2 separate regions of the Homo sapiens genome follow, and region 1 is linked to region 2. The links are contacts of gene promoters, found by promoter capture Hi-C in blood cells and fetal thymus (Javierre and others, 2016). All regions are on one chromosome and are shown on one strand. Each heading gives the region's core, a stretch centred on a gene start or on the middle of the fragment in contact. The rest is flanking DNA. Distances are from core to core; before and after follow the strand shown.

What was found. The method cuts DNA at HindIII sites, captures the fragments that hold promoters and counts their contacts. A CHiCAGO score of 5 or more calls a contact.
Region 1: a contact is called between a fragment that was not itself captured here and the fragment with the promoter of NKAIN2 in region 2, in 1 of 17 cell types (naive B cells). The highest score is 5.1, in naive B cells.

Annotation. Positions count from the first base shown.
Region 1 is chr6:127,117,715-127,123,666 of GRCh38, forward strand. It overlaps RSPO3 (R-spondin 3), which reads left to right and starts at 957. Exons shown (of 5, transcript NM_032784.5): 1 at 957-1,575. The coding sequence starts at 1,479. It overlaps LOC105377989 (a long non-coding RNA gene), which reads right to left. Exons shown (of 14, transcript XR_002956387.2): 4 at 1,187-4,022. The HindIII fragment of the contact is 657 bases long and covers 3,567-4,223 here.
Region 2 is chr6:123,799,414-123,805,412 of GRCh38, forward strand. It overlaps NKAIN2 (sodium/potassium transporting ATPase interacting 2), which reads left to right and starts at 4,452. Exons shown (of 7, transcript NM_001040214.3): 1 at 4,452-4,841. The coding sequence starts at 4,788. RefSeq lists an enhancer at 3,208-3,257. The HindIII fragment of the contact is 9,489 bases long and covers 943-5,999 here.

The DNA.
Region 1 (5,952 bases), core at 2,645-5,144, 3.3 Mb after region 2:
TCGGAGCAGGTAAACCTCAGAGTAGCTGACCGGCAGCACCCACAGAGTTTCCTCCCCACCACCCGCCTGGCGACCAACTGCAGCCGAAAAGAAAGAAAGAAAGGAAAGAAAGAAAGAAAGAAGAAGGAAGGAAGGAAGGAAGGAAGGAAGGAAGGAAGGAAGGAAAGAAAGAAAGAAAGACAAAGAAAGAGGAAGGAAGAAAGAAAGAAAAGAAAGAAAGAGAAAGAAAGAAAGAAAGAAAGAAAGAAAGAAAGAAAGAAAGAAAGAAAGAAAGAAAGAAAGAAAGAAAGAAAGAGAGAGAAAAAGAAAAAGGGAGAAAGGCAACAGAGGAGAAGGTCAGGAAAGCCGGGAACAAGTCAGCAGCCAGAAACTCTCCAGCGATCTGCCAAGGGGGAGAGGGTAGTTGCGCGCCGGCGCTGGGGATGGGGTGGGGGCGCTGGGGCACAAGGGCGCAGGGGCGCACGGCCACCGACAGCCGGGTGCGCCTAGCTTGAGGCCGCGGAGAGGAGCCGAACTGGGATGGGTGGGGGGTCTTCGGCCTCAACACTGCCTGCCAGCCCCAGTGCGCCCAAGTCTCCCCGCCAGAGCTGCCCTTCTGGAGGGGCTCTTCGCACGCACTGCTTTCCCCATTCTTCTGGCTGGAATTCTCCGGCCGTCACTGCAGTGTCCAGAGATGCTGCGCTGTAGACCCGGGACCCCTTAGGCGCCTCTTCCCGTCCCTCTGCCAAAGCGCAACGCCTGTACTTTTCCAGCTCCCTCTTTCCCTCTTGAAATTGAAAGTTATTGAGGTCGCTCAGGGTTGTTGCTCCAGCAGTTTCCTTCCCCGCCCCCGAGCTCCCCCCCGCCCCCCACAGCCATCCCCCCTCCTCTCCCCCTCCCTGCCCTCCTCTCCCTCCCCCCTCCCTGCCCTCCTCCTCCTCCTCCCCTATGTGGTGCTCCCGGGAGCCCAGCCCAACACTGGAGCGTCTCCTGCTCGCGCACGCCAGAAGCAGCTCGGGGTCTCTCCGCCGCCCCTTGGCCATGGCCGCTGTGCCGACGGCGCCCGCTCCCCTGCGCTCCAGGGGCCCCCGCCGCTGCAGCCGCAGCCGCCGCAGCTTCTGAGCCCAAGGGGCCGCCGCTGCAGCCGCCGCCGCCGCCGCTCGCCCGCCCGGATCCCGCCTGCGGCAGTTGCCGCACAACATGCTACCTGCGGCCGCCCCGGCGGCTCCTGGAACCCCGGTTCGCGGCGATGCCAGCCACCCCAGCGAAGCCGCCGCAGTTCAGTGCTTGGATAATTTGAAAGTACAATAGTTGGTTTCCCTGTCCACCCGCCCCACTTCGCTTGCCATCACAGCACGCCTATCGGATGTGAGAGGAGAAGTCCCGCTGCTCGGGCACTGTCTATATACGCCTAACACCTACATATATTTTAAAAACATTAAATATAATTAACAATCAAAAGAAAGAGGAGAAAGGAAGGGAAGCATTACTGGGTTACTATGCACTTGCGACTGATTTCTTGGCTTTTTATCATTTTGAACTTTATGGAATACATCGGCAGCCAAAACGCCTCCCGGGGAAGGCGCCAGCGAAGAAGTAAGTGCAGGGTTTTTTACGCGTTTGCTCCCTCCCGCCGCGTTCACCTGTCGGGTCGCTTTGCCTGTCCGGAGCCGGCTCCCAACTGCAGCGGTCCTCCCGCCCTGCGCCTCGCAGAGGAGATGCAGGTTCGGGCTTTGGGGGTATGGACGGCGTCTTTCACCCTTGCCTCTCGGCGCCCCTGCCTTCCGCAGCATCCTAGCCGGTGCGAGGGGCGGGCGGACGCGGCGCTAAGGTGGCTCCCGCCCCATGGTAACTTCAGGTTCGCGGGAAAGTTCGGTCCTGGGTTAGACTCGCACCCGGGATTTGTGCTTTCCTTTTGAGGATCGGACAGGGGCACCCAGCCGAAGGCACTTGGGACTCCCAGACGCAGGATGCCTCTGACCGCTGAGTAAATGACAAGGGAGGCGCGGCCGCGGTACCCGCTCACCTAGCGCAACCGCCTCGCGCGGGGAGACCTCGGCTGGGCCCTTAGGCTGGACTCCGGTAGCCGAACGCCCGCTACCCGGCCAGGAAGCCAGGGAGCGAGCGCCTGCGCGGCCGCATCCCCGACACGCACCAGCGGAGCCAAAGGGCGCGCGAGGCGATGGGGTTCGCGTGTCTGCGCGTTTGCAGAGCTGCCGGACGTCCCCCGCCCGAGGGTTGAAGACAGCAAAACCCCAGCTGTGGGGAGCCGGAGGTGCGGAGTTTCCAGGTTCTCTCTTGTCACATGTGAGCGTCTGTACCATCTCTGGCCCTTTCAAGTGTGTCCCCTGGGACACACACGTACAGAGAGTGGGGTCTCCCTAAAGATTCGCCTCCTCGCTGCCCTTAATGCTGTTATTTGGAGGGTTGGATTGTGATGGCTTCTTAAGACGGTGTCCTAGCTGGAATTAAGCGGACACCACCACGGCAGCCTCAACCTGGGTTGGTCTGTCTGAAAGGTAGAATCTTCCCAAGATGAAGGGACAGATGCGAAGGTGTCACCTCTCCTCGCTCCAGGGTAGCCTGGCGCCCTCGCTGCTCTAGTGTCTGTGTTCCCATGGGGAGTCCTTTCGCAGATCTCAGAGCAGGGGCGACCCTGGCTCTATGGTTGGGGGCGCTGGTGGAGAGAGGGAGGAGGAAACTTCTCCTGGAGCTCGCGAGGGGCAGGAAGCGATGCTGCTGCTCTGGGCTCTCGCACCTCCGCGGCGTGCAGCCCAGGCCCAGCGGCCCCACCTGGTTTCCCAAGGGGATCCCTCTCCCAGCGTCCCGCCCGGGAAGCCTTTCGGGGCAGACGTCGGGGCAGCGCGGAGGACACAACACCGGCTTGTGTGAGATGGAAATTTAGTAATCGCTTCTCGGCCGCTGTTTGTCCCTGCCCTGCCCCTGGGCATGAGGGTCCCCTGAAAGCTCCCTTTGTATTGCTGGCCTCGGCCAGACAAGGTTTGATTCACCTGAAAATTGCCTTTTAAAAAGGTGGCAGTGCCAGAGCGACAGGGGCCCTGGCCGGGCCTCACCGCCTTTAGGATCACCTAGCAGGGGGCAGGAGAGCCCAAACTAAATATGTCAGGGCATCCGATTTATTATTCTTGGCCTCCGAATGGTGTGTACTCTGGTAACTCCCCACCCACTCTTTCATTCCGGCCCGGACGCGGAAGGGGAGGCCTGGGGTTCAGCGGTGTCCACGCGCCTGGCGGTCCCCGCCTCCTCTCCTCCCAGGGTCTGGCCTGGGGAATTGAGTCTCAGGGTCAGTGGGCATAGGGAGCCCGGGCTGGAGCGCAACCCACTCTGCTTTCCATCCGCTCTTCCAGCCCGTGCCCATTGGGCGTCCCAGAGCACGCTCTCTCCTTTACCCCCACCGAGGACCCCCGGGCTGGGAGCCACACACTTGTCAAGGAGGGACAGGGTACTGAGTGTCAGAGGCGTCTCGCTTTGCAGTTTTGGGGCCCCTGATTCTGAAGGAAGACACAGGAAAGAAAGCTTGTAGTCCTTTTGTGCCCACCTCCCCCAGCGAGGACCACGGCGCAGGAAGCTTTCCCCGGGCGCTGCCTCAGGGAGCTGTGGGATGATGCACCTCTAGGTTGGGCCGAGAGGAGTCAAAAGGCAAACTGCTTTTCGACCTGCCTTAATCATCTCAAGGCCAAGTCAAAGGAGACCTCTGTTTGTGTTGAGGGGATGAAAGAAGGAATAGTGGAACTGGGTTGCAATTCCAATTTTTCTGTGGGAGTGGGACTGGGAGACAGCACCCACAGCGATGCTCTTGCTCCTTCGCACTTGAGTCTGCGTTTGCGGCTTGGTTTGCTGGTGCAATCCTGGTAGAGGGGCGACCCCTTGCGTCCTCGGAGGAGACAGACTAGACTCTTGGCAGGTGCAGTATGACTTAAGGAGGAAGGAGTGGAGGGTAGAGAGGTCCTCTTTAAATGCCCAGAAACTCAAGGTCAAACTGCATGTGCACAAACTCAGATATACCGTTTGTTTTGAAATCTCTGGGGGAAAAAAACGAACAAAAAGATTCAATTCACAGTTCCTGTTTCTCAAGTAAGGACTAGGAAAAGTTTTTAAAATGAAAACATGTGGTCAAACGTGTTTTCAAAAGAGGCTGGCTATCCTAATTGTTTCTTCAAGAGACAATTAAGTGAATATTTAAGGAGTCTTCTGGCCTGTAGTTATATAGTTTCAATTTCCTAAGCTTAAAATCATCAATAAAGATATGACAGGTAGAAAATTAGGTGTTAAAAACTTCTACAAAAAATTTAATGGTCTCTCTTGATTTAGTAGGAAACTTTTTTGTAAACAAGAACATTCATTTGAAGTGTTAAATATTGTCATGTCCAAAGAATCATGCATTATCCTCAGAAATAGCAAATAAAGCCATATCAGTATTCTCCTGTTTCCCTAAAACAACTGTAATTCCATTTGTCTCTACTTTGATATAAACTAGTGATCCTAGTTATTACAAACTAGTGTTTCTTCTCATAAAAGAAACAATGTTTTAAGACAAGACCCTTGTACTTTAAAATGTCTATTTAGTTATGGGTGAATAAATACACAATAAATTTTTATCTATTTGAATTGGTATACAGCTCTTAAAAATGACTCAACCTTTGAATTCCAGATTGTGTGCTAATAACATTAAGAAGCACTTTTTTTTTGCCATAATGATAGCCACAGAATCTTAGTGGGGCCTCACATTTTCACGTGGATTAGTTGCTTGGGCCCTGAAATAGCCACTGAAGTGAAGAAGCAGGTACTTATCTTCCCATCTTAGAAAGAAAAGGCCTGAGAACTAGAGGCTCAGTAACCTACATAATGCCATATATCTAGCAAGTGGAACTTGTCTCCTGCCATGAATCTCACAGTTATGTACACCTTTATTCTATATTCTGGTCATAGAGAAGATATCAGGTTTATTAAGTAATAAATTAGATGGTCTCAAGGCCATCATTTATTCAATAGGTTTAGAGAATAAACTGTTCTCCTTGACTGGAAATTTTTGAACTCATTATTTTATATAATGGTGATCAATGTCAAAGAATTAAATACCTAATAGTAAAGTTTTCTAAACGGAATATATCATTTGATTATCTAGGAGATACTATGGGATTATTCTGTGCCAGAAGGTTATTGTTAGAAACATCAGATGGCATTTAGCATCCTTTTTATTTGATGCCATCTAGTAGCTCGGTTTTAATTGTTCAGACTCTAGATAAATGCAAGTTTTGAAAAGCCATTATATGCATAATAATTTAAAAGCACTCATTGCACAATCTATAAAACTTCGCAAGTCTTTCATAAAGACGTCTGAAGAAAGAGAGAAAGAATAAAAAGGAAATAATTTTCATGGTAATAAAATAAAAACAGACTATTGGAATGTACTGGTCATTGCTCATGACATTGTTTCAGATGTTGAGCCAGTCTTTGAAATTATGACACACCCTTTGTGATTATGTTGTGAATCCTGGAAAATAACAAGTTAACTGATAAAATAGAAAAATCTTTAATTCTACTATACATTTTGTAATATTAATTTCAAATGAAAGTTTGGTTTGGATATTGACTACAATGTATTTTTCACACTTGTCTACGTTTCTCACCAGTCTGCCTTATTTTTGAGAGTAACAGTGTTTTAAAGATACAGACACGAATAGAATTTGCTGAAGAAAGTGTATTCTTTGATACGTCGTGTAACAGCTGTATAAATCAAGACAAATGCAAATTCATATGCGGTAGTGGCAACATCTAAATGCAAGGAAAAACATCTTTGTGAACTCAAATTTAATCATCATTACATTATCAGGGTTGTTTCTCAAAATATCCCATGGTGACACTATTTTAATTCCGTTTATTACTTTAATAGAAGGATTTTAACAAGAACGTTAGAAATGGTAATTTTAAAATACCTTCTTTTTAGCCCCA
Region 2 (5,999 bases), core at 3,202-5,701:
GCTCCCTGCCCTTGAATATCAGACTCCAAGTTCTTCATTGTTGGAACTCGGACTGGCTCTCCTTGCTCCTCAGCTTGCAGACAGCCTATTGTGGGACCCTGTGATCCTGTGAGTTAGTACTTAATAAACTCCCATATATATATATATATATATATATATATATATATATATATATATGGCATATATATAAAACATATATATATAAAACTCCCATATATATATAAATATATATATATTCCATTAGTTCTGTCTCTTTAGAGAGCCCTAATACAGCATTGCTCTAAAAGTTTAACTTAGTTGATGCTTACTAAATTCTCCCAAAAACTCTATATGTGCATTATTACCCCTCCCATTTTATAAATAAGAAAACCAAAGCACAAAGAGCTAAGCAATTTACCTAAGACTACATAGTTGATAAATGGCAGAGCTTGGATTATGAAACTCAATGTCTGGCTGCAGAGTCCATGAACTTAATAGTTAATAACCTGGATACATGTTTTTGGTCTATTGTCAAGTGAAAAAAAGCAGGTTAAAAGATGTTGTGCATGATATCACCCTATTTTTGTTAGAAAATGGTTTGTATAAAAATGACATCAATTATCTCTGGATGGAAGAATTGGTGGCTATTTTCATCTTATATGCCATTAACATTTAAAATATACTATCATTTTCCTAATCATTATCCAAACAAGAAAAAAATCCATGTTAATATAAAATATATAATGTGTACAATGAGTCAAATAGGTTGGTTTTGTGATTGTAAAGATGTGATTATTATGCATCCTATGCCTGTATCGAAATGTCTCCTGTACCCCATAAATATATACATCTACTATGTACCCACAAAAATCTTCAAGAGAACTAATTTTTGCTTTCATGATTTAAAATAATGAATGGAGGCAATAAAACTCAGTGAAATTGTTTAGCAGAGTTGCAACGCCAAGCTTGAGCTTTTGGTGTAGCTGAAGTGATTGAGTGTTAGCAGTCTGTAACCCGGTTCACTCAGTGGCTGTGTGCCTACTGCATTGCATGAGTTGTTCTGAGAGATAAATGAGATAATAGATCTGAAACAACCTTGAAAACTACTTTAAAACAGTACGGGAAGGTGAGGCAGATGGAGGTGTGGAATGTGCAGCACATTTTCCCCATAGAAACAAGGCAATTCACAATACTTATGTCACCATATTAGTCAACAAAAGGTCTAACACCTTATATAGCAAAACAGTTTATGACCTTATTTCTAAGTGAAAATGCAATCAACATTCAAATTGGAGACATCTCTCTCCTTCACAAACGTCTGTGGAACTGTTGGGATTCTCTTTTTAGTCTCTTCTACTAAGACACTCAGTTCCAGGAATAATAGAAAACAGAATAGGAAGTGCATAGCCACATTAAGTTATAGAATTGCATCTATAACTAGGGTGCCCTTTCATAAGTCAGGCATTGCCTATACTGTATGTAAAGGATGTGATGCCAATTTAGAGATAAAATATGTGTGATTATTCTTCTAAATATTTTTGTCATCACTTTCGTATGGAATTCTAAAAGAATGACAGGGAAGTATATTGAAATAAAGGAGTGTGGTACAGTAGTTCGAAAAGCGAATTTTGGTGTCTTATAATCATGCCCTTCAAATTCTAATTCTGCCGCCAAGAACACGTGCACCCGTGATAAAAATATTTGATTTCTCTCTGAGTTTGTATATCTTTAGAATGTGCATTGTATCAACTCATGTGTTTCCTGTGAGGAATGAATGAGACGATGTAGGTTTAGTACATAAGGCAGTAGTTGCACATAGTGAAGTCTCAACATTGTTTGTAGTTCACACTTCTGAGAACACTGTGCCAATGACGTCAGATGAGGTATAAAAGCCCCTGGAGACTGCCTTAGGTTGGGATTCTCAAGAGGCAGGCTCTGACACAAGGATTTGAGTGGTTTATTTCAGAGGTGATCCCAGGAAGCAGTGGTATGAAAGCAGGGAGATGAGGCATGGAAGGGAAGGAAGCCAATTCAGAGCGCATGAATGAGCCAGTTACTACTGTGGACACCTAGGGCTCAATCTCGGTGGGGACCTTAATGGTGTAGACTAGAACATGTCTGACGGTTTCCCATATGAGGATTGAAGAAGCTGGGGTATTTATCCTCCAATTCCCATCCATTATTGCGTGAGGGTAGCTCTTAGGGCTGGAACCTTATTGTTCAGCCAAGCACCTCCAATGGCTAGAAAACAGACTGTCCCAAGTGATTACAAAAACGCAAGCATGGACTGAAAGGGCACAGTCCAAGAACTATGGTGGGGCACTGCTGGAGTCAGCTACAGATAGCATTCTGCTTTCCTATACAACCTAAAGATTACTCAGGCTATTGCTGGTTGCAGGGAAACCTCTGCAGGATTACGGAGGGATCCATATAAATGTGTTGTTCCTATGATTAATTTGAGGAGGTAATAGAATGCTTTTGACAGTATGGCAGCAGCTTCTTCAACAGTCAATTAACTTACAGCTTTCTGTTTGGCAATGCAAAATACCCATAGCCCTAGCAGGTACAGGACAGCTAACGTGTATAAAGACAGAAGAGCAACTAAGAGAAACATTTTCCACTAGATAACTGGCTTCAGTTTTACCAAAGGTTGTGGAACTATTACCTTCCAGGCTTTGCAGTGCCTAAGAGCACATATTGGGCTCTTGGGAATTTTATTAAACATTGAAAGACACTTTTCAGAAGAAAAGCCCCTTTACAAATGGGTCGATTAAAACCAGACATTCTCATTATAGCAATAAAATATCTGTGCTCCATAAATTTAACAAAGTTAATCCCTTTTTGGCTCCCTAGGACTGACGAAACGTTTCTGAAAATTCAGTGCCAGGCTCTGGAGAATAGTCTCTCTGCCCTATTCAATTTATTTGTATTTAGTCATTCTGATACGTCATAATGTTTATTCAAAGGAAGCAATCATTCGGGATCCTTATTTGTGGTTCCCAGCATAACTTTATCCTGTATAAATGCCATTTTTCTCAGTAGGCGCCAAGTTCCAGTTGCTACAGAGAGCTCTCTGCTTGATGTGGCTTCGTCATCTTAATCTCTTAAGAAGGGTGCTAGGGAGCTGTTTGCTATTTAGCTCCCTAAACCATCCTCTTATCAATCGCGACACTTCACCCCAATGAGTCAGTTCCTCAGTGGATCTCAACAAATAATCTTCACTTCCTGGAAAAGTTAGGATTGCTTTCCTTAGCTGCCAGGGCTAAAAAGGAAACTTGGTCCTAAATATCCACGCCCCAGGGGCAGCCACTTGGGCCAGCATGTTGCGCCCTTCAGCTTTCCGCCCGCAGGTGGCAGCAGCGGGCTCCGAAGCCTGTCTCTGCAGGTAGCAGCCGCTTCACAGCTTTCAGGCCGGTGCTCAGCGGAGGCTGGTGCATCTCCACTAGGAATCCACACCCAGCTGGGACTGCTGTGAAGCTGAAGTAACTGAGTATTAAACTAGTCTCCGACTCTTTAGTATTTTAAGTGAAAACAAACAACAGTTTGAAGCAGCAACAGCAACTCATTGCATCCCTATTCCCTCCGGTTGCTAATTTTTCCCAACTCCAGCAGCAACTCGGTCCCCTTCCCCAAGCAGGGTCGGCTCCGTAGCTCTCCGCGCTCCGACCCTTCAGATCCTCGGGAGCCCAGGGGAGCCAGGTGCTGGGCGGTGCGTCCGGTGCCGCCGCGCCCCTTCTCGCCACCTCTGGCCTCTCCGCCACTCGGGCTTTCCGGCCGCTCTGGATGCCTCGGTTGCACCCCTGTTCCATGACCCCAGCTTCCTTCCCTAACCCTCCTCTTGGTCCCTTCTCCCCCGAGCGCGCGCGCACACACACACTCGGTTCGCTCCCGCGGAGTGGCTCTGGGAGCACGACCGACTTCAGCTCAGCAAACCGCGGTCATGCCGCCCAGACTCCTCGCCCCGAGGCCCCGGTCCCCGCCGCCGCCGCTTTCGCGCCGCTCCTTTCCGCCTAGACACCGCCGCCTGCGGCCGCCTGGGCGGCAGCCCCTGCGGTCCTCAAAGTTGGCCCCCTGGGAGGGGGCGGCAGGGAGCAGGATGAAGGATTTGTTGTAGGAGGAGGATTCACACATCTGGGCGAAGGGAGGGGCAGCGCCGCTGCTGGGACGCGGCGCGGACCCGCATCATTGCGCGCAGCAGCCGCTGCAGCAGCCGCCGGGGACCGCGGAGCCGGGACGCCCCCGCTCGGCCCGCGCCCCGCTCCCCGCCCCACCCCCGCCCGCCGGGCCCAGCAACGCAGGGTGCCTAGGAGCCGCGGGCTGCGCAGGGAGGCGGGCAGCGGCCCTCGCGCGCTTCTGCCGCCCCCGGAGCCGGCGCGCGGCGAGCGCAGGGCGAGCGCGCGTCGGGCGGCGGCCGCGCTGGGGGGCGTGAGGCGAGCGGCGCGGAGAGCGGCAGGGGCGAAACTTCGCGGGCCAGATGCCCGAGGGCGCGGCGGCGCTGCCAGGCTGCCGCTGCTGCCCCTGCGGGCCCCGAGCGCGCCTCCGCAGGCGGCACTGCCCGCGGCGCGGCGTGTGCACCGAGCGAGTGAAGGTATGTGTGGCGGGCGCGGCTGGAGCTGCCGCCGCCGCCGCCGCCGCGCCAGCAGGTCCTAATGCCTGTCACTTCCCAGGACGCTGGCAGCAGCAGCAGCCCGGAGCCCCCGAGCCCTCGGCAGGTTTGCGTGTCCTTCCCCGCGATCTGATTGGATAAAGTGGGGGCTCGACGGTGGCCGACGTGGGACAGTCTGGCTGTGGCAGGGGTCTCGGAAACCATGGGTTATTGCAGTGGCAGGTGCACGCTTATCTTTATCTGTGGCATGCAACTGGTAAGTGACACTTGGGTCCCCTTATTCTGTAATGTGTCTTTGAGATAGTGGGCAGGGGAGTGCAGCAAAGGGTCTGCCATTGACTAGAATGGACGAAAAAGATAAAAGAGAAGGTGACAGATATATTGCCTATATTGAAGATGATTTCAGGGAGACGCACTCTGGGGTACAGGAGAGGTGAGCCTTTCCGTTCCCACCTATTTCTGTCCCTTTTAAGACAGTTTGGCAGGTGCGGGTTAAACTTGTCTTTAATTTCTTTAGGAAAAGCAAGATGTAGCTCTTGTTCTTTATGCTTTGCATTCCTATTCATGTAACAACGTGATTGTCACCTACAATTTACCGTACAGGTTGTTAAACAGAGGAATACGGAATTTTGGACTTTTCTTCTCTATACTAATTTTGCAGTATCTTTGTTTCTTCATAGACATGTTTTTTTTCTTTTTTTAAGGAAAATGTTGTCTTTAAGTATAATGCTCTAAAAAAACCACTGTTTAGGGCACATGGTATCCTTACAACAGTCTAATTTAGACTGTTTGAGTTTTAGCCACATTGAGTTTTTAAAGTATGCAGATTGAACAAAAATACTTAGGTGAACTCAGCAACACCATTGTCATAGACGGAACCAGTAACCTTTAAATCACAATTAACACAGACAATTCCAAGAAAAACTATTCTGTCTTACATTATGCATATTATTGCTCCTGAAATAGATACTGTTGTCTGATCCTATAGGATGGAGAATTCTATGTACTTTTTGAGGAATGTTGTACAGTTGCAAAGGGGCAAGGAACCAATAATGGAAAACGTCATGTCTCTGAATTTCAATTCCCTAAGGGCAATGGAAGGAGGGTCTGAGTAGAGAGTTGAGAGGTGAAAAATACACCACTCTAAGTGGTTAATTTGAGGTAGGAGCTACTTGCTCACACTTGTCATTAAATATATTTCCTTAGAAAGTATAAATTAACTGGAATAGTCATGTCCGTTTTCAACAACTGTTTCATAAAGGTTGAAGTGACTACAAGGCAGAAGATGTTTAAGTGTCCAATCAGTAAAGTGTTCAAAAGAGCAAGGATTTGCCATTGAAACTGGCAGAGGAATTCCTTAAGTGTTCTTGTTTATCAGTTGTCGTGAAGCCCATGAGTGTTAGTTATTGCTGCT